Regions from separate parts of the Homo sapiens genome. Here all the other regions are linked to region 2. The links are contacts of gene promoters, found by promoter capture Hi-C in human tissues and cell types (Jung and others, 2019). All regions are on one chromosome and are shown on one strand. Each heading gives the region's core, a stretch centred on a gene start or on the middle of the fragment in contact. The rest is flanking DNA. Distances are from core to core; before and after follow the strand shown. Region 1 overlaps CLUAP1 (clusterin associated protein 1). Region 2 holds the start of CREBBP (CREB binding lysine acetyltransferase). Region 3 has its middle 48 kb from the start of ADCY9. Region 4 overlaps NLRC3 (NLR family CARD domain containing 3). Region 5 holds the start of ZSCAN32 (zinc finger and SCAN domain containing 32). Region 6 overlaps SLX4 (SLX4 structure-specific endonuclease subunit). Region 7 holds the start of ZNF597 (zinc finger protein 597).

The links. Contacts are between HindIII fragments. The study calls those that stand out against the background at their distance.
Region 1: a fragment that was not itself captured here is called in contact with the fragment with the promoter of CREBBP in region 2 in 1 of the 25 tissues and cell types used here (dorsolateral prefrontal cortex).
Region 3: a contact is called between a fragment that was not itself captured here and the fragment with the promoter of CREBBP in region 2, in 2 of the 25 tissues and cell types used here (IMR-90 fibroblasts and aorta).
Region 4: a fragment that was not itself captured here is called in contact with the fragment with the promoter of CREBBP in region 2 in 1 of the 25 tissues and cell types used here (lymphoblastoid cells).
Region 5: a contact is called between the fragment with the promoter of ZSCAN32 here and the fragment with the promoter of CREBBP in region 2, in 1 of the 25 tissues and cell types used here (thymus).
Region 6: a fragment that was not itself captured here is called in contact with the fragment with the promoter of CREBBP in region 2 in 1 of the 25 tissues and cell types used here (lymphoblastoid cells).
Region 7: the fragment with the promoter of ZNF597 here is called in contact with the fragment with the promoter of CREBBP in region 2 in 1 of the 25 tissues and cell types used here (heart right ventricle).

What each region holds. Positions count from the first base shown.
Region 1 is chr16:3,532,430-3,535,904 of GRCh38, reverse strand. It overlaps CLUAP1 (clusterin associated protein 1), which reads right to left. Exons shown (of 12, transcript NM_015041.3): 11 at 3,064-3,119. Among named protein-coding and RNA genes, the nearest start is that of CLUAP1, 33 kb to the right of the region's middle. The HindIII fragment of the contact is 7,388 bases long and covers 1-3,475 here.
Region 2 is chr16:3,879,443-3,882,919 of GRCh38, reverse strand. It overlaps CREBBP (CREB binding lysine acetyltransferase), which reads left to right and starts at 2,207. Exons shown (of 31, transcript NM_004380.3): 1 at 2,207-3,088. The coding sequence starts at 3,004. RefSeq lists silencers at 1,732-2,281, 2,302-2,351, 2,689-2,998, 3,039-3,088, 3,169-3,218 and an enhancer at 1,952-2,528. The HindIII fragment of the contact is 21,091 bases long and covers 1-3,477 here.
Region 3 is chr16:4,162,784-4,166,459 of GRCh38, reverse strand. No RefSeq gene overlaps it. Among named protein-coding and RNA genes, the nearest start is that of ADCY9, 48 kb to the right of the region's middle. The HindIII fragment of the contact is 3,036 bases long and covers 756-3,676 here.
Region 4 is chr16:3,554,752-3,558,412 of GRCh38, reverse strand. NLRC3 (NLR family CARD domain containing 3) reads left to right here. Exons shown (of 20, transcript NM_178844.4): 7 at 737-820; 8 at 1,419-1,502. LOC101929732 (a long non-coding RNA gene) reads right to left here. Exons shown (of 4, transcript XR_007064953.1): 3 at 924-1,014. Among named protein-coding and RNA genes, the nearest start is that of NLRC3, 21 kb to the left of the region's middle. RefSeq lists an enhancer at 3,425-3,661. The HindIII fragment of the contact is 4,749 bases long and covers 1-3,661 here.
Region 5 is chr16:3,398,966-3,402,717 of GRCh38, reverse strand. It overlaps ZSCAN32 (zinc finger and SCAN domain containing 32), which reads left to right and starts at 1,714. Exons shown (of 7, transcript NM_001284527.2): 1 at 1,714-1,773. ZNF174 (zinc finger protein 174) reads right to left here and starts at 1,503. Exons shown (of 3, transcript NM_003450.3): 1 at 312-1,503. The coding sequence starts at 713. LOC105371059 (a long non-coding RNA gene) reads right to left here. Exons shown (of 4, transcript XR_007064949.1): 3 at 3,192-3,752; 4 at 3,049-3,087. RefSeq lists silencers at 1,157-1,376, 1,927-2,076 and an enhancer at 1,454-1,953. The HindIII fragment of the contact is 10,964 bases long and covers 1-3,752 here.
Region 6 is chr16:3,585,889-3,589,384 of GRCh38, reverse strand. It overlaps SLX4 (SLX4 structure-specific endonuclease subunit), which reads left to right. Exons shown (of 15, transcript NM_032444.4): 12 at 1-383. Among named protein-coding and RNA genes, the nearest start is that of NLRC3, 10 kb to the right of the region's middle. RefSeq lists an enhancer at 1,908-1,977. The HindIII fragment of the contact is 6,051 bases long and covers 1-3,496 here.
Region 7 is chr16:3,442,131-3,445,408 of GRCh38, reverse strand. It overlaps ZNF597 (zinc finger protein 597), which reads left to right and starts at 1,905. Exons shown (of 4, transcript NM_152457.3): 1 at 1,905-2,049; 2 at 2,203-2,288. The coding sequence starts at 2,256. NAA60 (N-alpha-acetyltransferase 60, NatF catalytic subunit) reads right to left here and starts at 1,729. Exons shown (of 8, transcript NM_001083601.3): 1 at 1,572-1,729. RefSeq lists an enhancer at 1,496-1,645. The HindIII fragment of the contact is 11,416 bases long and covers 196-3,278 here.

The DNA.
Region 1 (3,475 bases), core at 749-3,248, 350 kb after region 2:
GCATCTGGGTGTGGTGCTGCAGGGGCTGGCTTTCCCGCAGCGTCTAAGAAGCACTCTGCATCTGCGCTGAGGGCCACTGGACCTAGAGACTCCCCCTACAGATGGCAAGAAGGACAGGGGCTTGGAGAGAGGGAAGGGAGGCCTGTTTTGGCTTTTTGTAGATTGTGGATGGAAAGCAACATAGACATTGGTATAAGGAGCAAAGTGAATCCCAGCTACTCCGGAGACTGAGGCAGAAGAATCGCTTGAACCTGGGAGGCAGAGGTGCAGTGAGCCGAGATTGCACCACTGCACTCCAAAGCAAGACTCCATCTCAAAAAAAAAAGAAAAAAAAGAAAAAAAGGGAGCAAAGTGAAAGACACACCCTCTCTCTCCTCATCGGATCCAGGGCTCCAGGGTGACCAACTCAGCCCAGCTTTAAAACGGCAGTTCCTGCGTCCCATGTAAACCAGGATGGCTGGTCGTTCTATCTAGATCATTCCTGTCGGTGCACACTCATGCTGTAATTTCCTTCTTGAAAAAAAACCCCAAAGGTAATCCCACCTTCCTCTCCAGCTGCTCTGCCCTGTCTCTCTCCCCTCACACAAAGCTCCTGAGCGAGTCGTTGAACTCACTGTCCACACCTGTGCCCCTCACGACTGCTTCAGTTCCCCCGGGCTCTCACCTACTGACCCCAGCACTGCTCCTGTCAAGAAGGAAACATTCAACGGACTGGGATCGATTCTCAGGCCTCATCCTGCTTGAGCTGTGGAATCACCCCTTCATCCTTAAAACCCATCTTCTCCATCCCCCAGGGCCCCTTCTCTAGTCCAGGTCCCCCTTCCTCACTGCTGACGCCCCTCAGCCTCCTCTGCCTGCCCCTTCCTCCCGGACCTCTGCAGGGCAGATGCAGCTCAGGACCTTGGGTCGCCTCTCTTCTCATTCTACTTGCTCTCCCTAGGCAGTCACATCTATCCTTGTGGCTTAGATACCAACCAAATAAGGGTGGCTCCCAAAATTCAATCTCTAGCCCAGACGTGGCCCTTGAACTCCAGACTTAAATTCCACCTGGCTACTCAACCCTAGCATGTGGCTGTCACATTCAGAATGTCCAAAATCAAACTTTCGATCTGCCTTCCAAGCCCCTTTGTCAAGTCGGCCCCATCTCAGAAAATGAAACTCTGCTTTCTGCTGATTAGACCAAGCCCAGGCACCCTCATTTTTCTCTTTCTCTAACAGCCTATGTCCAATCAATTCACAAAACCTGATGGTTCTTAGAGAGACCCAGGACCTGACCATTTCTCAACACCTCTGCTGCCACACCTTCGGCCAAGCACCGTCACCTCTGACCTCCACGGGTGCAGGCGCCTCCTAACTGGCTTCTCTCAAACAGGGATCATCAGCTCTTGACCCTTCTGGGCTCATGATTCTTCAGGGCCTTCCCCTCACACTCAGAGAAAACAGAGTCTTCATCTCACCCTGCAAAGCTCTGCATGGCCCCTGCTGCCTCTCGCACTCACCCACAATCACACCAGCTGCCTCTGCTCCTCGATGCGAGGAGTGCATTCCACATGCCCAGGTGCCGCCAACCCATGCGCTCGCTCCCTCCACTCAGGCCCTGCTCAAACACCACCACGTCAGGGGCCTTCACTGACCTCGCAGAAGACGCCACCCCCTCCTTGTTCCCTGTCACTCCCTGTCCCCTGAAGCTGTTATTCCTCCTGTTAACACCATGAGCCCTGATCCGACAATCCATCATTATTGCTGGGGTGTGAGCCATGAAGCAGGGGCTTGCCTCTGCCCCTGCTGCGTTCCCCATAATCCACGACAGCACTGGCATGTGGCAGGCACTCAACAGACACGTGTTGGATGCCTGAACACGTAAAGCATGGAACCCTGTGCCTGGAGGGCGGCATGGACACAGCCTCCTTGAAATAAACAAGTGACCACCAGGCATAAAGCTCAGCTGCGACTAATGCATTCGCTCTGAGGAGAGAGAAGGCAAACCCTGGAGAAGAGGCAGGCGGTGCTGCCTCAGCATTGCCAGCACCCACGCCACACTCCCTCTGCTTCTGTCTTGGGTGGGCAAGACGGAGAGACGCTGTATACCATCCACACCCGAGCTTGTTAGGAAAATTATTTTCCAGTTGCTCTCTCTGCTTCTCTACAGACTGTGCCCTGTAAATTCAGGGCACATGGAGGCAGCCTGGGGTCAGTCTCTGTTGAGTCGCCCTTTGCTGTGTGGGCCGAGCAGCACTGCCAGGGACGCAACAAAGAACGTAGGCTTGAGCAATGGGCGGCAGAGCCCTGATGACTGGACCTCACTGAGGACCCCTAGAATCCCCTTTTGCTTAAGTGCTCCAGGGAGTTATCCACTCAGTAAAGCTCAAGGCAGCTTATGTCTCAGCCTCATGCCTGGCACCTCGAGGGCCTGGTCTGGGGACAGTGCTGCTTCACCATTCCGTCCCCAGCACAGAACAGGGAGGGGGGTTGGTCCTGAGCCCGGCCCTCGGCGTCCTCCTTCATTTCTAGGTGGCGGCCCAGGGCCTGAGGATGGCCCGGCCTGAGCTTTCCCCGCCTCCAGGCTCCGTGCCTGCGCCTCCACTTTAGCACAGGGGCCTTCAGTGATCCCGCTGTCACCACAGGATCTCTTTTGAGTGGCCTTTTTGCCCAGGAGAGAGGAAGCATCACTCCTAGGGAGAGGCCCCTGGCTGGCCCCGGGAGGGCTGACAGACACCCACAAACACATGAGGCAGAACAGAAAACCAACCTGCTTCTTGGAGCTGGAAGTCTTGCATTTACCTAAGAGAGCTGGTGCTGCTTCCATCTTTGGAAAGCGAGAATGGAAAGAACAGTGAGAAGGCAAAAAAAGCAGAGCAAGCACATTCACTTGAAAAGAGATGAGCCATCCACGAGCAACGAAGAGTCCAGAGCCTCATGAGGCCAAACCCTGCCACGCATCGAGGCACGGCCGGGCTGACCATAGACGGCTCCCTGGCTGCTGACAGCAACTCAGCCACTCCCATCTATGGGGACAGCCAAACCCAGAGTGCACAGAACCACTGAGGGGAGCGGGGGACTTACATTGTCATCGGAGTCTCCACCTTGCATCGTGCCCACAATGCGTTTGCCAGGTCTTCCTGAGAACAACAAAAGCATGAAGAAGTCATAAAAATCTTGGAAAATAAAGCAGGAAATAGCATTCAAGATTTGTTTTCTGGCCAGGCATGTTGGCTTTTGCGTATAATCCCAGGAATTTGGGAGGCTGAGACAGGAGGCCAGGAGTTTGAGGCCAGCCTGGGCAACATAATGAAACCTCATTTCTACAGAAATTTTTTTAAACATTAGCCAGGTATGGTGGTTCACACCTGTAGTCTCAGCTACTCGGGAGGCTGAGGCAGGAGACTCGCTTGAAACCAGGAAGCAGAGGTTGCAGTGAGCTGAGATCGTGCCACTGCACTCTAGCGTGAACGACAGAATGAGATTCTGTCTCCAA
Region 2 (3,477 bases), core at 958-3,457:
GCATTCAGATACAGGGTGTGGCCTGCCCTGTGCCACTGATACACTTCTTGCCATTCCTGTGCAAACTGACTTCTTGAATACTTCCATTTATGGCTTCCAGGGTGTGCTATTTTAACTCCTTGAATATATGGGGATCTCTTTATGTTTGGCCAAGGGGATTAGCACAGTCTCAATGCCCTTGGGATTCTCAAGAGCTATTTGATGCATAAGTAAAAACATGAACTAATTCGGGGGCAGTGGAGGCGGGGAAGATGGGGCAGGATGTGTTATGTGTTCTCTCACAGAGCCCAGAAGTGATATGGGAGCCGAGGAGTGGGCTAGGAGGGCTTCCTGGAGTAGGTGACATTTGAACTGGGTTCTGGAGGATGAGTTAGAATTTGCCAGGCATGTCTTCTCAGCACAGGGACCAGCATTTGAAAAAAAAAAAAAAAAAGCCTGAATGATGTGAACTGCCTACTGGCCAAGTGGGTGTAGGATGATGATGGTGAAGTGAGCCATGTAAAGTAGAAGAGACAGATTCAAGAGCGGTATCACGGCCCAAGATTTTGAGCAGTACAGGTAAACAGAGAAAAGCAGAACGATCACTCAATCTTGACACTCAAGGACAGTCACCATATGTACATACACCTATGTTTTTAAGAGAATTCATACGTGTTCTTTTTTAAAGAAAGACTATGTAGTGTTTTCTTTTTCTATGTCTGGGATTTTGTTTTGTTTTGTTTTGTTTTTGAGACGGAGTTTCACTCTTGTCGCCCAGGATGGAGTGCAATGGCGAGATCCCGGCTTACTGGCCTCCCCAGTTCAAGTGATTCTCGCATCTCAGCCTCCCGAGTAGCTGGGATTACAGGCGCACGCCGCCACGCCCAGCTAATGTTTGTATTTTTGGTAGAGATGGGGTTTCACCATGTTGGCCAGGCTGGTCTTGAACTCCTGACCTCAGGTGATCTGCCACCGCGCCTGGCCAGGGAGTTGTTTTAAACAGATTTTCTCCCTCTCTTTTCGGGATGTTAACTCTGGTGCTGCGTGGGGAGCAACGTGGAGAGCAAAGAACACTTAAGTGAGTAGCTGCCACCATAGCCACCGGGACAGTGCGGGAGGAGCAGTCTCCCAGGTAAAGACCGTGGGTAGAGGGGCGCGTGGCGGGTGAGAGGGAGGAGTCCGCGCTGACTCACGGGTTTCTGGCTTAGGAAACAGTGGAGCTGCTGATACCTTTATGAGGAAGCCGGGCAAGTTTGGAGGGGCAGATAACTAACTGGGATGGGAACACCTCGGGTATTCGTAGAAGTGTCCCGCGGGCTGTGGTCTCGCGTGGGGGACTCCCCAGGCCCGCACCCCTGTCTGGGGCACCTGCGAGGCGCCAGGCAAGTTGCCTGGGGCGGGGAGTGCGGCCTGAGCGTCCAGGCTTAAGCCCCGATGCGCGGGCCCTTCTCCGCCCAGGCCGGCCCTCGCCACCCCGCTCTCACAGGTGAGGGTGTCTGCCCTGCCGCCTTGGGATGCGAACAGGCGTGAGGCCCCCTCACTCCCTAGTGTCACGAGGTAGGGCGGGACCCGAATCCCGGCCCTGCCACTTCCTGCCTCGACCACTTTGGAGCAGTTGCTCGCCCCCCGCCTCAGTTTCCCCATCCGCCCACCTCGTCGGCAGGACCCAAGGGCGGTCTGTAACCTGCAGAGGCCATTCCACTTCCCTGGCCGGCGGCGAAGGCTAGTGGCGCGGCCTGGGCTGGGGTCGCCCCGACCGTTCCCGACCGACGCCACCTAGGAGGGTCTGGGGAAGGGGACGCGAGGAGCTGGGAACACGCAGCGCCGCCCCAGCGGGACGGGCGGGCCCGGGCTGGCGTCGAATCCGCGCCCGAGAGCCCAGCCCGCGGCCAGGCCGCCGCTCCCGGAGCCCGCTGGGGCCCGGAGCCCCGGCCCTCTACGCCTGGTCGCCATCAGAACAAAAGCTGTGGCTCAGCCCGGAGCCCAGGCGCCCCGCAGGCCTGGCCCGCGCCGGGCCGCCAGCTTCCCTACGCTTGGCGGCCGCGCCTTCAGCCCTTCGGCCCGAGCACGCTCGGCTCTTTCCGCCACGGCCGGCGCAGGTGGAGGGGGCGGGGCGGGGGCCGTGCGTGGTGACGCCGCGGGGGGGTGACGCACCGGCGTGCCCCGCCCCCACCCCCTCCCCGTTCAGGCTCTGGAAAGAGAAGAAAAAAAACTTTCTTTTTTTTTTAATTGAGGAATCAACAGCCGCCATCTTGTCGCGGACCCGACCGGGGCTTCGAGCGCGATCTACTCGGCCCCGCCGGTCCCGGGCCCCACAACCGCCCGCGCACCCCGCTCCGCCCGGCCGGCCCGCTCCGCCCGGCCCTCGGCGCCCGCCCCGGCGGCCCCGCTCGCCTCTCGGCTCGGCCTCCCGGAGCCCGGCGGCGGCGGCGGCGGCAGCGGCGGCGGCGGCGGCGGAACGGGGGGTGGGGGGGCCGCGGCGGCGGCGGCGACCCCGCTCGGCGCATTGTTTTTCCTCACGGCGGCGGCGGCGGCGGGCCGCGGGCCGGGAGCGGAGCCCGGAGCCCCCTCGTCGTCGGGCCGCGAGCGAATTCATTAAGTGGGGCGCGGGGGGGGAGCGAGGCGGCGGCGGCGGCGGCACCATGTTCTCGGGGACTGCCTGAGCCGCCCGGCCGGGCGCCGTCGCTGCCAGCCGGGCCCGGGGGGGCGGCCGGGCCGCCGGGGCGCCCCCACCGCGGAGTGTCGCGCTCGGGAGGCGGGCAGGGGATGAGGGGGCCGCGGCCGGCGGCGGCGGCGGCGGCCGGGGGCGGGCGGTGAGCGCTGCGGGGCGCTGTTGCTGTGGCTGAGATTTGGCCGCCGCCTCCCCCACCCGGCCTGCGCCCTCCCTCTCCCTCGGCGCCCGCCCGCCCGCTCGCGGCCCGCGCTCGCTCCTCTCCCTCGCAGCCGGCAGGGCCCCCGACCCCCGTCCGGGCCCTCGCCGGCCCGGCCGCCCGTGCCCGGGGCTGTTTTCGCGAGCAGGTGAAAATGGCTGAGAACTTGCTGGACGGACCGCCCAACCCCAAAAGAGCCAAACTCAGCTCGCCCGGTTTCTCGGCGAATGACAGCACAGGTGAGGAGGGGGTCCGGGGCGGCGGGGGCCCGGGGCGCGCTGTCACCCCCACCTGAAAGAGAGCGTCCGGGGGTCGTGGTCGCGGATACCGATCGAGCCGGGAGCTCGGAGCAGGCCCCGCAGCCCGTTCCCCTCGCCCCGCGCGGGAGGGTGGAAGTTCGTCGCAGGACTGTCACTGGGCCCGAGTTGGTCAGCACACGCCCGGTGCACTCGGCCTCCCCGCACCCGATCAGCCCTCCTCGCGGGGACCCTAGTGGCACTCCAGGAGGGAAGAAGTAAAGTGCAGCGTGTGGGTTTGTTTGGTAATGTCCTACGCATCCATCCGCGGCCGTGTCCACACGCGTGGCCGTCCAGAGGAATGACAGCGGAGGGTACCTTTGATGCTTAGA
Region 3 (3,676 bases), core at 1,024-3,523, 280 kb before region 2:
ATTAAAGCTTAGGATTTCTGAACTTTTGCCCCTTCCTAGGGGTCCAGATGAATTGTAGGGAACCACCCTTTCTGGCTTGGCGTCAACCTCAAGGGCACATCTGTGGGATGCTGTTTTCCCTTTAAGTTTACTCCTTGCCTCCCAGTCAATGTCCTTTCCCTTGCCCTTACCTGTTTGCTTTAAAAAGCACTATTTTTTTTTGTTGTTGTTCAAGCGATTCTCCTGCCTCCTGAGTAGATGAGGATTACAGGCGTGTGCCACCACACCTGGCTAATTTTAATATTTTAGTAGAGACGGGGTTTCACCATGTTGGCCAGGCTGGTCTCGAACTCCTGACCTCAGGTGATCCGCTTGCCTTGCCCTCCCAAAGTGCTGGGATTACAAATGTGAGCCACTGGGCCCAGCCAATTAAAAAGCACTATTTTTAACCAAGGAGCTTTACTTGCTTTGTTTTCGTTTTTGTAGACAGATGCAGCATTAAAGATGAATGCATTTGAATGCCATCACTGTCATAGTTCAACATTTGACCTCTCTTTGGCAACCAAACTATATTTTATATATTTTGTTGTTGCACATTTTCTAGAGGAGCATAGGAGGATGGGGCTCATTTTTGGTCCTCATGGCTTGGAGAGCTTTCCTCTTCATGCTGGTGGGCCACACTTGTCTGGAGATTCTTTCCTCTTCTTTGAATCTGGACTACAATAGGACAAATTAACTTCAGTGGTCATACAAGTCATGAAGAAATGAATTTAATAGTGTATCAGTTAGGATTCTCTTATGACATGTACCCCAATGATCTGGAAGTAGTTTAAGCCAAAGAGAATAATTTATTTAAAAGATTCAGGGACATATGAGATCTAAGGCCGGGAATACAACTGTGTCTCAGGAAGGGACTTTAAGTAGGAAGAGGAAAGCCATCAAGAAGCCAGGCATCCCCTCAGTGTGCTTGCTGCGACGTGCACTCTGTGCAGAGTGGCTGTCCCTGCTTCCAGACCACCCAGAAGGCAAGAAAGGGCCAGCCTGAGACCCCCAGTTTGTAATCCCCTTCATTCAAGAGAACAGCCAAGGCCGGGTGTGGTGGCTCATGGCTCATCCAAGCACTTTGGGAGGCCGTGGTGGGAGGATCATTTGAGCCCAGGAATTTGAGACCAGCCTGGGCAACATAGTGAGACCCCACCTCTACAAAAAATACAAAAAATTTAGCTAAGCATGGTGGCACATGCCTGTAGTTCCAGCTACTCGAGAGGCTGAGGTGGGAGGATTGCTTGAGCCTGGGAAGTCAGAGGCTGCAGTGAGCAGTGATTGTGCCAATGCACTCCAGCCTGGGTGATGGAGCAAGACCATCTCAAAAAAAAAAAAAAAAAAAAAATAGATCAGGAGACCAGCGAAGACTCAGTGAGGATCTGTTTGTCTCATTTCCAAATGTGTCCTGGAGAACCAACGTTAGTACAGTCAACGGTGATCAGTTTGGAGTCGCAAAACACAAACTCCGGCTGTTGAAAGCTTGGCTTGTAGGAGGGGCCCACTTCCTCCAAAGGGACCTGCTTCAAATATCCCCCCTGCTAAACCAGAATCATTGCTGTTGGGATGACCTTTCTATCTCAGAAGGAACTAGACGACTCTGTAGAGATGGTGGCGGAGGCGGGATCTATGTCTGGAAGGGCCATGTAAAAAACATGGACCTGGCGTGTTTCTGGTCCTTATCACTTCTGAGTTGTCCGATTTTATAGAAGAGGCCTTAAAAGATGTAAGATTTGGCCAAGAACTCATCGTCTGCTTCTGCTCCAAAACCACATTCTACTAAAAAAAGGTCCTTACACTGAATTGTTTGAAGGTTTTTTGTTGTTGTTGTTGTAAAGGATGCAGACTTAAAAATTATTTTTGGAAGACAGTTTGCAAGCTATTAGTAGAGAATGCTAAGAAAAAGCTTTTTGGGGTGGATTTGTTTAAACAGGCCCCTAACTGATGAGAGAATGGCTGTTTTCATGTTCCTTGAGAACCGTCGTCTTTTAATAAGACAGCATCGATTCTGGAGTCAGAAGACTAGATTGGGTCTCAACTCTGACACCGGGTTTGTGGCTTTGGGCAAGTTCTTTAATATCTCTAACTCTCAGTTCTAATTCTGAGAAATGGGATAAGTATCATATTAAAATCTACTTCCTGGTGTCAGGAAGAGTAGATGAATTAATGCACATTTATGTACTTGGCATTCTTCTTTGCGCTTAAGCATTCAGAAAATAGTCTTACAAAAATGATTACGCCTGTTTGATATTAGTGAAGAGTTAATGAGAAAAGATCAAATTGTGCTTGAATGTTAATTTTTTTAAAGCATATTCTGTGAATAATATTTCTTTAAAAAGCATTTTGCTAATGTTGTCTATGTTTAGCTGTTTAATAAAAAGTTATATTTGTATTTTTAAAAGGAAAAAAAGTGGGCGTTTTATGTGTCATAAGAAAGGCACCCCTTGCCTACACCTTTTGATGTGGGTCATGAGATTTTTTGTTTTATTTTATTTTATTTTTGAAACAGAGTTTCGTTCTGTTGCCCAGGCTGGAGTGCAGTGGTGCAATCTCGGCTACCTGCAACCTCTGCCTCCCGGGTTCAGGCAATTCTCCTGCTTCAGCCTCCTGAGTAGCTAGGATTACAGGCATGAACCACCATGCCCAGCTAATTTTGTATTTTTAGTAGAGACGGGGTTTTGTCATATTGGCCAGGCTGGTCTCGAACTCCTGACCTCAGGTGATCCACCCACCTCAGCCTCCCAAAGTGCTGAGATTACAGGTGTGAGCCACCACACCCAGCCAGGTTTTTTGTTTTAAATTATAATAAAGTACACATGACATAAAACTTACTAACTCGGCTGGGTGTGGTGGTGCACGCCTGTAGGCCCAGCTACTCAGGAGGCTAAGGCAGAGGAATCGCTTGAACCTGGGAGGCAGAGGTTGCAGTGAGCCGAGATTGTGCCACTGTACTCCAGCCTGGGTGACAGAGTAAGACTCTGTCTCACAAAAACAAAAAAGAAAAACCAAAAAAACAAAAAAATTTACTAACTCAAGCATTTTAAAGTGTATAGCTAAATGGTAGTAACAACATTCACATTGATGTGTAACCATCACCAATCTGTCTTCAGAACTCTTTTCATCTTGTAAAACTGAAACTCTCTACCCATTAAACCATAACTCAGCCGCGTGCTGCACAGCTGGGAGGTTGAGGCAGGAGGATCCCTTGAGCTCAGGAGTTCAAGATCAGCTTGGGTAACATAGTGAGACCTCGTCTCTACAAAAAGTCTATAATTAGCCAAGTGTGGTGGCACATGCCTATAGTCTGAGCTACTTGGGAGGCTGAGGTGGGAGGATCGCTTGGACCCAGGAGGCTGAGGCTGCAATGAGATGTGATTGTACCACTTCACTCCAGCCTGGGTGATAAAGTGAGACCCTGTCTCAAAAATAAAATAAAATTAACAATAACTCCCCATCCTCCTCTTTGGCAATCACCATCCTACTTTCAGTCTCTAGGAATCTGACTCTTCTAGGTAACTAGAGTCATACAAATGGAATCATACAGCATTGTCTTATTTCATTTAAGATAATGTCCTCAAGGTTCATGCACGTTGTAGCATGTGTTGTGTTGCCCAGGCTGGCCTTGAACTCCTGGCCTTAAGCTATTCTCCTACCT
Region 4 (3,661 bases), core at 424-2,923, 320 kb after region 2:
GCTGGGAGTATTTATACCATGGAAAGTGGCAGATACTACAAATCAGTTTGCTAGCATTTGTTTTTTGTTTTGTTGTTGTTTTGAGACATGGTCTCACTCTGTCGCTCAGGCTGGAGCGCAGTGATGTCATCATGGCTCATTGCAGCCTCAACCTTCTAGGCTAAATCCTCCCTCCTCAGCCTCCCAAGTAGCTTGGACTACAGGTGCGCCACCTGACTAATTTTTATGTTTTTCGTGGAGACAAGATCTCCCTATGTTTCCCAGGCTAGTCTCAAACGCCTGGTTTCAAGTGATGCTCCCGCCTTGGCCTCCCAAAGTGCTGGGATTGTATAGGCATGAGCCACCACGCACAGCCCAGTTTTTGAAATTTTGTTTTTCCTGGGAGCCAGTTTACCAGTACACCACTGGCTGCCATCTGCATGTTAGGCTTCCGAGATTTCCATTTTCTTTGCTGTGCTGTTTGTGTAGAAGCTGTTGTGCTGGATTCTGGTTAAACTTTTTCCTGAGACCCTTTGCCATGATGAGGGTCTGTCCTCCCACTCTGGCCCTACGCTGCCCAGGCTCAGGGGCTCTGCTGTGCCTGGCATTCTGCTCCAGGGGTCACCTCATCTCCACCTATGTCCAGACCCTGATGATGTGGGGGAGCCTAGAGGATTAATCACGGGCACAGCGTTGAGGAAGAGGCCATGAGATGTGCATGCCTAAAATAACCACTCCTCTCCCTTTCCTTGGGCAGCTTGGCGGAGAACCAGATCAGTAACAAAGGGGCCAAAGCTCTGGCCAGATCCCTCTTGGTCAACAGAAGTCTGACCTCTCTGGAGTAAGTAAGGACAACCAAGGCCGAACTTTTGCCATTGGAACCAGAAGAGTTGTGAGGCATCTTGTGAAGTCCCCTCCCTCCTAGGAAATGACTTGGGTCTTACCTGTCTGTTCTTCCCTGATTCCCATGATTCAGCCCCTGGGTAGCATCTGGACATAATATCCATACTTCATTTGGAGCAGGTTCTAAGACTCCTGTGGGAATAAGACACAGGGAGGCCACACCTTAGCGCACATGCCTTCCTGGTGGGGCAGAAGGACAGCCGGGCTGAACCATGGCTCCTCAGTTGCCGGGCTACAGCCAGGGACACACCAGATGTTTGCCCTGCATCTGGGGCCATCATTCTCATCTCCACATTTGGCCCAAGCCCACTAGTCCATCAGGTGCTGCTTTCTTTCCCCCAACACCTGAGACAGTCGTGGGGAAACTCCTTCCTTGTTTATATAAGGATCTCTGCCCTGGTTCCACCAAACATGAGATCCTAAGCCCTTACACATTCCCTTAGAGGATCACGAATTTCAAGGTCAATGCAGTTTCTGTTTCCCCTTCCCTCTCTGGGAGACAGATGAAGGAGGTGTCTCTTTCTCTCTTCCTTCAGCCTCCGCGGTAACTCCATTGGACCACAAGGGGCCAAGGCGCTGGCAGACGCTTTGAAGATCAACCGCACCCTGACCTCCCTGAGGTGTGTGTCACCTGCTCCCTGTGTTGTGACCCCAAGAGAGGGCCCAGAAAACCCTCTCCTCAGGCACCACCTATGAGAATGGGAGGTGATTCACAATGGCAGGCATGGGGCCGGGCACAGTGGCTCACATCTGTAATCCCAACCCTTTGGGAGGCTGAGACAGGTGGATCGCTTGAGGTCAGGAGCTCGAGAGCAGCCTGGCCAACATGGCGAAATGGCATCTCTACTAAAAAACAAAAATTAGCTGGCGTGGTGGCAGGTGCCTGTAATCCCAGCAACTCGGGAGGCTAAGGTAGGAGAATCGCTTGAGTCTGGGAAGCAGAGGTTGCAGTAAGTTGAGATCGCGCCACTACACTCCAGCCTGGGTGACAGAGTGAAACTCTCTCAACAAGCAAGCAAACAAAGATGGCAGGCATGGGATACTGGCTCCCATCCCATTGGGTACTGGGGATCTTATGCCCTACGCAAGTTTCCAGGGTCCAGCTCTTCCCTAGACTTGAGCCTGTGTGTGTGGCCTGAGCAGGGGACAGAGTTGTGATGTGGTTTGTTACGTCTCTTTTTTTTTTTTTTTTTTTTTTTTTTTTTTTTTTTTGAGACGGATTCTTTCTTTGTCACCCAGGCTGGAGATCTTGTCTCACTGCAACCTCTGCCTCCTGGGTTTAAGCGATTCTCCTGCCTCAGCCTTCCAAGTAGCTGGGATTACAGGCTCCTGCCACCACGCCTGGCTAATTTTTTTGTATTTTTAGTAGAGACGAGCTTTCACCATTTTGACCAGGCTGGTCTCGAGCTCCTGCACTCAAGCCATCTGCCTGCCTTGGCCTCCCAAAGTGCTGGGATTACAAGTGTGAGTCACCGAGCCCAGCCAGTTATGTCTCTTTTAAAAGCCTGTGGTTATATCTATACTTAGCTGAGTGGGTACCACTTTTCTGTTCTGTTTTCATTTATTTATTTATTTATTTATTTATTTATTTATTTATTTATTTATTTTTATTAGGGTGAAATTCATGTACCATAAAATTGACTGTTTTAGGCGGGTCCCAGAGGCTGATGCCTGTAATCCCAGCACTTTGGGAGGCCAAGGCAGGTGGATCACTTGAGGTCGGGAGTTCGAGACCAGCCTGGCCAACATGGTAAAACCTCATATCTACTAAAAAAAAAAAAGAAAAGAAAAGTACAAAAAGTTAGCCAGGCATGGTGACAGGTGCCTGTGGTCCTAGCTACTCAGGAGGCTGAGGTTGAGTTGAGCCCGGGAGGCGGAGGTTGCAGTGAGCCAAGATCGCGCCACTGCACTCCAGCCTGGGCGACAGAGCGAGACTCTGTCTAAAAAAAACCCTGACTGTTTTAAAGTGTACAGTTCAGTGGCATTGAGCAAATTCACAATGTTGTGCCACCATCACATCTGTCCAGTTCCAGAATATTTTCATCACCCCTGAAGGAGACCTCATACCCATAAACAGTCACTTCCCATTCTCCCCTTTCCCCAGCCCCTCACAATCACCAATCTGCTTCCCATCTCTAAGGATTTACCTATTCTGGACATTTCATGTAAATAGATTTATATAGGCTCGCCTTTGGTGTGCGGCTTTCCTCATTGAGCATGATGTTTTTAAGCTTCATCCGTGTGGTACCATGTGTCAATGCTTCCTTCCATTTTATTTTAACTTTTTTTTTTTTTTTTTTTGAGACGGAGTCTGACTCTGTCACCCAGACTGGAGTGCAGTGGCGTGATCTTAGCTCACTGCAACCTCTGCCTTCCAGGTTCAAGCACTTCTCCTGTCTCAGCCTCCCGAGTAGCTGGGATTACAGGCATGTGCCACCACACCCAGCTAATTTTTGTATTTTTAGTAGAGATGGGGTTTCACCATGTTGGCCAGGCTGGTCTCAAATTGCTGACCTCAAGTGATCCACCCACCTCGGCCTCCCAAAGTGCTGGGATTACAGGTGTGAGCCACTGTACCCAGCCTCTTCCCTCTGTTTTAAGGCTGAATCATATTCCACGGGATGGACAGACCATGATATGTTGATCCATTCACCTAATGACAGCCATTTGGGTTGTTTCCACCTTTTGGTTATATGAATATCGTTGCTGTGAACATTGGTGAATACGACTTCCAGTGCCTGTTTTCAATTCTTTTGAGGATATACCTAGGAATGGAATT
Region 5 (3,752 bases), core at 465-2,964, 480 kb after region 2:
GGGAGGCCGAGGCGGGCGGATCACGAGGTCAGGAGATCGAGACCATCCTGGCTAACACGGTGAAACCCTGTCTCTACTAAAAATACAAAAAATTAGCCGGGCGCGGTGGCGGGCGCCTGTAGTCCCAGCTACTCGGGAGGCTGAGGCAGGAGAATGGCGTGAACCCGGGAGGCGGAGCTTGCAGTGAGCCGAGATAGCGCCACTGCACTCGGGCCTGGGCGAAAGAGCAAGATTCCGTCTCAAAAAAAGAAAAAAAAAAAAAAAGAAAAGAAAAAGAAATCCCCAGGATGATGGGAGAGGACCCTCCTTACCCACTGCTTTGGTTTCTTGGATGCTCTGTGAAAATCTTCCACGAGGGTCACAATCTCCTTGCTGCTCATTGGACATCGATGCCTGACCCGAGCCTGGATCTCCGGGGGCAGGATGGTCAGGAACTGCTCCATCACCAGAAGCTCCAAAATCTGCTCCTTGGTGTGCAGCTCGGGTTGCAACCACTGACGGCAGAGCTGTCGGAGCTGGGAGAGAGCCTCTTGGGGTCCAGACACCTCTTGATAACAAAAGCGTCTGAAGCTCTGGCGGCAGAGCTCAGGATCTGGGCAGTTTTTTTGCAGAGGAGGGCCCCGTTTCTCTTCTAGTTTGGCTATTATGTGTCTCTCTTGCTTGGAGGAAGCTTCAGTGTTGGAGCTTAAAGTTATCTCCATTTTAGCTGCCATTTTGGGCGTCAGGAGACAACTCTCTCCTTGTAAACGGGTTAAGCCTTTGGGATCATGACCCTGGAGAAGTCTCTGAATACTAGAAAGATTCTAGAAACGAAGGTTCTCTGAGGATGTTAGGGGGAACGGGATGCAGAGACAAAGCCTCACTTGCTAGCCTTTACTAGCCAAACTCAAGACAACGCGGTCCCTGGGAGTGGGAAGAGTTTTGTCTTCTTGTCAGTTTTTTGCAGTCTTGCAAAGGAGAAAAGTCATAACGTCCTAAAAGGACTCTGGGGAAAAAATACTTCTTTTATTTCAGTAGCAAGCACACAGGTCTCGGATTTAATGAGCAATACGCTCTAACCGGCGGGTGGAGCGGAATCCCTAGGAAAAGTTCAAGCTGTCGCAGGTAGCTTGCCCCAACTCTCCCGCATCCTGGCGGAAACCGACCGGGTGCATGTCGCCGGGTGCTAAACGGTAGAGCTAAGCGAGGCCACAGCGCCAGCCGGGGGTGTGAGGTAGCGAACAGCCTCCTGCACGCGAGCAAAGCGGCTGCTCGCTGCCGAGGCGCCGCAGGCCCAGTGGCTCCGGCCTCCAGGGCGGCCCCGCGGCCCAGCCAGCCCCAGGCCTGGCGAAGCTGCCGCAACCCGATGCGCAGCTGAACTCCACGCCCGGTGTGAGCTCGGACTGGCGACTGCGACACCGGTACCCCGAACAGCCCGGCGCCCCGCACCCACCTGCAGCCGACTCACCTCTCCGGGAACCCAAGACCGAGGGACTTAGGACCCGACACCGGCGAGCACGGGCTGGGGGCGGGGCCGATGCCACTCGCTGCGGAGACGCCCACTAGCTGCTGAGGACAACTACTGACAGGGCCCGCCTCCTGCCAAGGGCATTCTCTACCGTCTATTGGTTGCTGCGCCTGTCAATACCGTCGCAGTGCATCCCGGGAGCTGCAGTCCGGCAATTCGGCTTGCGGGCCTGCGCAGGGGCGTGCGTAATGGGCGGAGCGAATCGCGCCGCTGACTTCCGGCCCGGAGGCTGAGGGAGTTTGTGGAGTCGCGAGTGCTGGTGTCCGGTGAGTTCTCCGCTTCCTTGCGGCCGGCGGGATTAGCCGCTGGGCCCTGCGACGGCCGAGGAGCCCCTCCCCGCTGGGAGTCTTCTCCGAGGCGTTCGGGTCCGGCCCCGATGGGCGTCTCCTTGGGACAGGCAGCCTCCCTCAGGCCGGGCGTCCCCAGACGCGCCGCGATCACCGTGCCCCGCTCCCACCGTGCGGATCACCCCGAGCCTGAGCGCCGGCGCCCCGGGACCCCCTGGCCTTGACCCTGCTCATCTCGTCCCTGTCTCGCCCACTCCCTACTCATCCACAGTGCCTAGCCCTGGCACCGAGTGCGTTCTGAGTACTCAATAAATAGTTAACTAAGTGAAAAACCTATCAACCTGGCTCCCCATCCTCATGCTACATTTTTTTCCGAGTGTTTGGGCCATCGCTAGAGTGAAGTAAAATTTTCAGAGAACAGCATTTTAAAATTTAACGATGAGTGGGAGGTAAGGGGTCAAAAGGGGTCAAGAAGGGTGCAGGTTCCGCCTTCTGCATGAAGTTAGAAGAGCTTTTATTAAATTCTTCTTCAGCCAGGTAAGGCACAGGATGAACATAATGAAGGCAAGGGGTGCTGGTTCTAGTCCTGGCCTTGCTGCCTAGGAGCTGTGCTGTGTGATGCTTTAGGCAAGATACTTCATCGCTCTCAGTTTCTTTTTGGCTAGAAAGCAGTGCTAACAATAATAATGCCCTTGATTTCTCTATCTCTAGAAGCACTGAAATGTAAAGAGAATTTAAGTGAAGGCAGTTCAAGTTCCTTGAGAAAAGGGAACCCAAATCCATTTTTAAAATATAAAAAAATTTCTTTAATTTTTAAAAAACATTTACCATCATAACCATTTTTAAGTGTACAGCTCAGTAGTCCTGAGTATATTCATCTTGTTGTGCATGCTGGATCCATTTTAATACCACATGGTGAGGGTGTATCAGCCCCTGGAGAAAATGTAAATTACGATCTGCTTTAATCTGTGTTTTAAGTAGATAAAAACCAACACAAACTCATTAAAAAAGACTGCCTTCGCGGGTGCAGTGGCTCACACCTGTAATCCCAGCACTTTGGGAGGCCAAGGTGGGAGGATCACTTGAGCACAGGAGTTTGAGACCAGCCTGGGCAACATAGTGAAACTCCACCTCTACAAAAAATACAAAAGTTAGCTTCTATTTAAAATTATTTTTAAGGTCGGGCATGGTGGCTTATACTTGTAATCCTAACACTTTGGGAGGTTGAGGTGGGAGGATTGCTTGAGTTCAGGAGTTTGAGACCAGCCTGGGCAACAGAGTGAGACTCCATCTCTAAAGATAAAAAAACAAATAAAATTATTTTTAAAAGTTATTTATTAATTTTAAATTATATAAAACTATTTTTAAAATTAACTCTTAAAAAAATATTGCCTTACATAAACTGGCCTTGGAGATCCAAACATGTTGTCAAGACTTGAGTATATTGTCCTCTTGTAAACAGGCTCACTCCTGTGATGGAAGAGTGGAGTAGAGAGTGGGACATAGTTGGAGACAACTCTGATCTTACATTTGCCCAATTTACCAATTCCTAGAAAATGAAGAGCTTTCCCTACCTCTCATGTAAAATCTGAGAAAAGAATTTTGATAGGCCTAGCTGTGTGTCATATGCCCACTTCTGGGGAAGTGGGTATTGTAATTAATATCCCCACCAGAACCAATGAGAGGGACTTTTTCTTTTTTTGAGACAGTCTCGCTCTTGTTGCCCAGGCTGGAGTGCAATGGCGTGATCACAGCTCACTGCAACCTCCGCCTCCCGGGTTCAAGCGATTCTCCTGCCTCAGCCTCCCGAGTAGCTGCGACTACAGGTGCGTGCCACCATGCCCAGCTAATTTTTTTGTATTTTTAGTAGAGACGGAGTTTCATCTTGTTAGCCAGGATGGTCTAGATCTCCTGACCACGTGATCCGCCCGCCTTGGCCTCTCAAAGTGCTGGGATTG
Region 6 (3,496 bases), core at 891-3,390, 290 kb after region 2:
CCCCCCAATTCCAATTGACGACTGCTGCTGGCACATGGAGCCCCTCTCGCCAATTCCCATTGACCACTGGAACCTGGAGCGGACCGGCCCCCTGAGCACCAGCAGCCCCAGCCGCAGGATGAACGAGGCCGCCGACAGCCGTGACTGTCGCTCCCCGGGACTCCTGGACACCACCCCCATCCGAGGAAGCTGCACTACCCAGAGGAAATTGCAAGAGAAGTCCTCGGGCGCGGGCTCCCTGGGGAATAGCAGGCCGAGCTTTCTGAATTCGGCTCTGTGGGACGTTTGGGACGGGGAAGAGCAGAGGCCTCCAGAGACCCCTCCTCCGGCCCAGATGCCAAGCGCTGGTGGAGCTCAGAAGCCCGAAGGGTTAGAGACACCCAGTGAGTAGCCAGGAGAGCTGGGGAAGGGGACTGTCTTTGTTACTATTTTACACTAAGAGGGTGGGAAGATCAGTCATGAGACCCAGGGGCTGCCCTCTGAATGCCTGCTGACCTGAGGCATGACACTTCCGCTGCCTTCCAGACTCCCCTCCACAGTGGAGGAGAGCCGGGCTGGTTCTCATGCTACACTTCTCAGCCAGTAAGTCAGTGTTTCCCAAACTTGCCTGGCTCCAGTGCTCACCTGGGCATGTGTTAAAAATCCACATCTGTGGACCCTTCTCCAGAACACGGAGCCGGCACCTCCAAAGGCCACAACTCATTCAGCAAGTATCGGCATGCCTTAAGATTGGACCAGGGTGGTTCTCCAGAATGTTAACCGTAGATTGACTGCAGGACCCAGCAATTCCACTTTTACCTGTATATCCAAAAGAATTAAAAACAGGGACTCAGACATGCATGTTCATAGAAGCGCTGTTCACAATCGCCAAAAGCTGGAAGCAACCCAAATGCCCGTCAGGAGATGAACAGGGAAACCAAACGTGGTCCATCTAGACCACTAGAAAATGGAATAGTGTTCAGCCACAAAGAGGAGTGAGGCACTGCCACACGCTACCGCGTGGACGACCCAGAAAACATGCTGCCGGGTGAGAGAAGCCAGACATAGAAGGTCATGTACTGTCTGCACTCATGGATATGAAATGTCTAGAATAGGCAAATCCAGAGAAAATGCAGGTTAGTGGTTGGCCTGGGTTGGAGGGAGGGGGAATGGGGAGTGACTGCTTATGGGATACAGGGTGTCCTTTTGGGGTGGTGAAAATGTTTTGCAAATAGATAGAGGTGATGGTTGTACAACATTGTGAATACTTAATGCCACTGAATTATTCCCTTTACGATTTTTTTATGTGAATTTCACCTCAATTAAAAAAAGAATCAGGTGGGACAAGTGTGAGAGGCTGTTAGGCCTGTTCTTCCTGGTCCTCCCAGGTGCAGGGATGCCACCTCCCTGCTCATTTCAGTCCCCGGGGAGAGTCAGAGCCCCAGGTGTCGGCCCCCTCGGTGCTGCTGCTCCCATCCAGGCACCTCCGGGGAGGGCAAGGACAGGCCGGGCTGGGCTGAGCATGACTGGGAGAAAGGCCAGGCTGTGAGTGAGCACCTGCCTGCGGCCTGGGGGCCCATTTCCTCCCAAAATCCAGATGAATGAGGCCACTGATAGTGTCCTCGGCCCTCAGGGGCTTCAGAAACACCTGGAGAGCTTCTTATAGCACGCCCGTGGCCCAGCCTGCCCCAGAGCCTTGCTTCGGGAGGGTGACTAAGAATTTGCATTTCTAACCAGTTCCCAGGCAGTGCTGTGAGAACAGCTGCAGGAGGCTGCACAGCAGATCTGAGGTGGGCTTCAGGACGACGCTGCGGCCACAGGAAGAATCGTGCTTTTCTCAGGAGACAGAGCCTGCCGCTTTCATCGGGGGCTCAAAGGGCTCCATGGTCATAAAAGGCAGAAGAACCAAAGTCTGACTGTTTCCAATGTGTCACCAGGCTGGAGTGCAGTGGGGCTATCTCGGCTCACTGCAACCTCCACCTCTCGGGTTCAAGGGATTCTCCTGCCTCAGCCTCCCGAGTAGCTGGGATTACAGGCACCCAGCACCACGCCCAGCTAATTTTTGTATTTTTAGTAGAGTCGGGTTTCACCATGTTGATCAGGCTGGTCTTGAGCTGCTGACCTCAGGTGATCCGCCCACCTCGGCCTCCCAAAGTGCTGGGATTACAGGCGTGAGCCACCTCGCCCAGCCTATTATTTTTTAAAGTAACAGCTTTATTTAGATATAATTCACATACCATAATATCCACCCTTTTAAAATGGACAGTTCAGTGCTTCTCAGTACATTCACAGTGTTGTACAATTGTCCCCACTCTCTAATTCTAGAACATTTTCATCATCTCAAAAATCCTGTACCCATGAGCAGTCTCTCACCTTCCCCTTCCCCCAGCCCTGGCAACCAAGAACCTTTCTGTCTCTATGGATTTGCCTGTCCTGGACATTTCATATAAACAGAGCCATATATAACTAATATGTGGCCTTTTGTGTCTGTGTCTGGCTTCTTTCAGTTAGCATACAGTTTTCAAGATTCATACATGTTGTAGCATGGATCAGTATTTTATTCCTTTTTATTCTTTTTTTTTTTTTTTGAGACGGAGCCTCTCTCTGTTGCCCAGGCTAGAGTGCAGTGGCACGATCTCGGCTCACTGCAACCTCCACCTCCTGGGTCCAAGCGATTCTCCCGCCTCAGCCTCCCGAGTAGCTGGGATTACAAGCGCCCATCGCCATGCCATGCCCGGCTAATTTTTTTGTATTTTTAGTACAGATGGGGTTTCACCATGTTGGCCAAGCTGGTCTCGAACTCCTAACCTCAAGTGATCCACCCACTTTGGTCTCCCACAGTGCTGGGATTACAAGCCTGAGCCACTGTGCCTGGCCTGTTTTTGAGTCAGGGGTCTTGCTCTGTCACCCAGGCTGAAGTGCAGTGGCGCAATTACAGCTCATTGTAGCCTCGACCTCCCAGGCTCAAGTGATCCTCCCACCTCAACCTCCTGAGTAGCTGGGACTACAGGCAGCTGCCACCATGCCCAGCTAATTTTTTTTTTTTAGTAGAGACTGGGTCTTGCTATGTTGCCCTGGCTTTGGGCATACATTCCTTTGTATGTCTAATACCCCACTGATGGTATGCCACATTTTGCTTATCCATTCATCTACTAGTGGACACACGGGTTGTTTTTAATTTGTGGTTATTAATAATGCCACTTAGGAATATTGATGTGCAAGTTTTCGTGTAGACATGTTTTCCTTCTTCTTGGTTCTGTACTTAGGAGTGGAATTGCTGGGTCATATGGCAACTGTGTTTAGCATTGTGAGGAACTGCGAGACTGTTTTCCAAAGTGACTGCACCATTTTAAATCTCCACCAACACTTGTTATTCTGTTTTTGTTGTTGTTGTTATTGTTTTGAGACAAGGTCTTGCTCTGTCGCCCAGGCTGGAGTGCAGTGGCGTGTTCATGGCTTGCTGCAGCCTCAACCTTCCTGGCTCAGGTGATCCTCCCACCTCAGCCTCCCGAGTAGC
Region 7 (3,278 bases), core at 656-3,155, 440 kb after region 2:
CCAGCTACTCAGGAGGCTTAGGCAGGAGAATCATTTGAACCCCGGAGGCAGAGGTTGCAGTGAGTCAGGATTGTGCCACTGCACCCCAGTCTGGCTACAGAGTGAGACTGTCTCAAAAAAAAAAAAAAAAAAGAGATAAGCACAAACCAAGAAGGGAAAGATGACTACGTGAACACCACAGTGACTCAACCATGAACATCTCCTTTACTTACACCTTCATATACAGGCTATTAGCTCTTCTTCAACATATATGCTTTGGACTGGTCTAGCCTGTAGGCAAGTTTGTTCTTACCATTCTTCCACCTGTCCTGGAAGCACCTTTACTGGGACTTCACAGCTACCTCTTTTGTGATCCATCCCCACAAGGTCTAGCTCTTAGTTAGCTGTCAAGAGATATCATTTGTGGCAGATACTGCTAGTTTCTTATCTAACTTATTTTCCACATCTCTTTTTTTCATTTGTAACAAAGCCCTAATTTTGTGCAGGTAGATTATCAAGGGAGGCTAGGTCCTTCCCCTAGTGACAGGGGCTGAAGCATGATGGGCCCCAAACAATTATTTATTCTTGGTAATAACTAGTTTAGGATGGGTACATGACACAATACATGTCTGTATATTTTACCTGGATTCTATTGTCAACGTTACCAACATGCTTAGGGTGGCAGAGAAGCACTGGGACCTTGATGTTGTCACTGGGCCACCGAATTAACCAACCTGTAACTGCTCTTTGAACATCCTTTCGGTGGGTTTTCTGTTACTTGTAGCTGAAACTATCCTATCAGATATTCCACAAAATCACATTACCTAAGTTGTCAAATCTCCTAATATTGTTTTAATAACCATGCAGCCATTCATTAAGCTTTTAGATACAGGAATGTGCCTGGCACTGGAATAAGGAAATATGTTGAGACTTTTCAGGCTTTTCTATCAAGGTACCTATCATTTTCGTCTTTTTTTTTCCCCAAACACCTTTATAAACTGGCAATTTCTTTCACTTACATTATCTTATAATCTTTGAAATTACCCTCTGAGTTAGCCCAGAGAGGCACTCTGAGCTGTTTGCAGCTGAGGAAAGCAAAGTTGTAAACTGGCCAAGATTACCAACCAATCAGTGGCAGAGCTTGGGGAGGAGCTCAATTTTCCAATTCCAAATGCCTACACCAGGGCACTCCCTCCTCCCCCAGCACACAATAGGAAATGACTGGCTCTAGGGTAGGCTGCATGTGAGGTATCCGGGGGCGAACAACGTCCTGCGACGCTAACCTATGGCTCTATTCTCGCGTGGGATCCTGTGACTAGGAAGCTGAAGCAGCTCGCTTAGGCTGCAGCTGCGGGTACAATACGTAATGCCTCTATAACACTTTGAGTCAGAGTCCAGCAACCTGGCCTACACCGATGTGAACGTTGTGAACGTACACAAAGATACTCCTTCATGTTCCACGGCCCCACCATCCGCTCAAGACACAAAGGACAGCTCAAGCCCAGGCTAGGCCCGAACCCCCGCCCTCTCAATCACCTTGCTCTGGCCAGACCGAAATTTCAGGCCTACAGGGCACTGTTGGCCGAACCCACATTTTGTTACCGATTTTCTTTCGAGTTCCGGTGTCTCCCAGTCTTCTTTCTGTCCTTCTTCTCGGAAACATTACGTCCCCCTGGGGTCACCCTAAGACTCTACTTCAGCAGGCAAACAGGCCCGGAGCTCACGGAGGAGACCCCGCCAGCGGAAGCGGAAATGGTTGCTTAGAGAAAAGGAGGAAAACTACCTCTCGCAGCTGCCCAGTGGCTACAGGTCCTCGGTTAAGGTGTTCAATTGGTCAACACAAAAGAAGGACTTCCCCTTCGGGAGAACTTCGACCAATCAAAGGGCAGGATGGCGGAGAGGGCTGAGGGCGGGTCGCTTCCGGCGGCTTTTCCCGCAGCTCCTGCGTAAAGGAGCATGAGAGCGTGGGAGTTTTGCAGTGGCCGTGGCGTTCTTCGTCGCGTCTCGGTCGGGCGTCGCTTTCTGCAGCTCCTGTCAGGGAGCGCGAGGCCTGTTATTAACCGCGGAGCGGTAAGTGGGCCCCTTTCGAGGCCGGGCCAAGAGGAGGAGCAGTCGGCGTAGGTTTTTAAGGGGGGGTTCGGAGGGAATCGAGGGAGGCTAGGGGTAGTGGAGGAACTTGGCAGCGGAATTGGTCCCTTTAAGAACTGTTCTCTCCCCCCGCAGCTTTGTCACGAAGTCCCTGTGGCGTCTTGAAGAAGGCATTCCCCACCCGCCAAATGGCGTCCATGCCCCCGACGCCCGAGGCCCAGGTGAGTCGAGGTACCTTTTTCGTCCAAGTTTATTGCTGCTTTCGGTCTCTGCCTGACCCCCTCCTTTGGAGGAGAGTTGGGCATGCCTGTTGTGGTAGGAGTGCTCCTGAGCCCCAAATAGCCCTTTGACCAAGTGTTCTTCGTTCCAAGACCACACACATAATGGTTTACCAACTTCCTTCTTTCAGAACTACCAACTGGGAGCAGGGACCTGTGGAGGAATCTCTGAGAGAGTTTCTCAATGTCTTATCTGTTTGTTTTGTTTTGTTTGGAGATAGGGTCTGGCCTTGTCGCTGGAGTGTTGCTTGTCTGGCTGGAGTGCAGTGCTGATATCATAGCTCCGTCTGGAACTCAGGGAATCCTTACGCCTCAGCCTCTCGAGTATCTGAGAGGCGCGCATACCACAGTGTCTGGCTACTTTTAAAAGTTCTTTTTTTTTTTTTTTTGATACAGAGTCTCGCTCTGTCGCCCAGGCTGGAGTGCAGTGGCGCGATCTCGGCTCACTGCAAGCTCCGCCTCCCGGGTTCATGCCATTCTCCTGCCTCAGCCTCCCGAGTAGATGGGACTACAGGCGCCTGCCGCCACGCCCTGCTAATTTTTTGTATTTTTAGTAGAGACGGGGTTTCACCGTGTTAGCCAGGATGGTCTCAATCTCCTGACCTTGTGATCCGCCCGCCTCGGTCTCCCAAAGTGCTGGAATTACAGGTGTGAGCCACTGCGCCCGGCCTAAAACTTCTTTATGGAGATGGAGTCTTGCTGCTTTGCCAAGGAACTCCTGGCCTTCAGCTATCCTCCCACCTCGGCTCCCCAAAGTGCTAGGATTAAAAGTGACTTTCTGGAATGGTTCCCAAAATTACAGATTTGGTACTTCTCCAATTTGAATGAATTTTTAAATTAAGCACATTTCTAGACTCCACACTCGTTGAGTAATAATAAATCCCAAGTGATTAATTTATCACACCGTTAGAGAAGGTGGGGTAGGCCTGGATG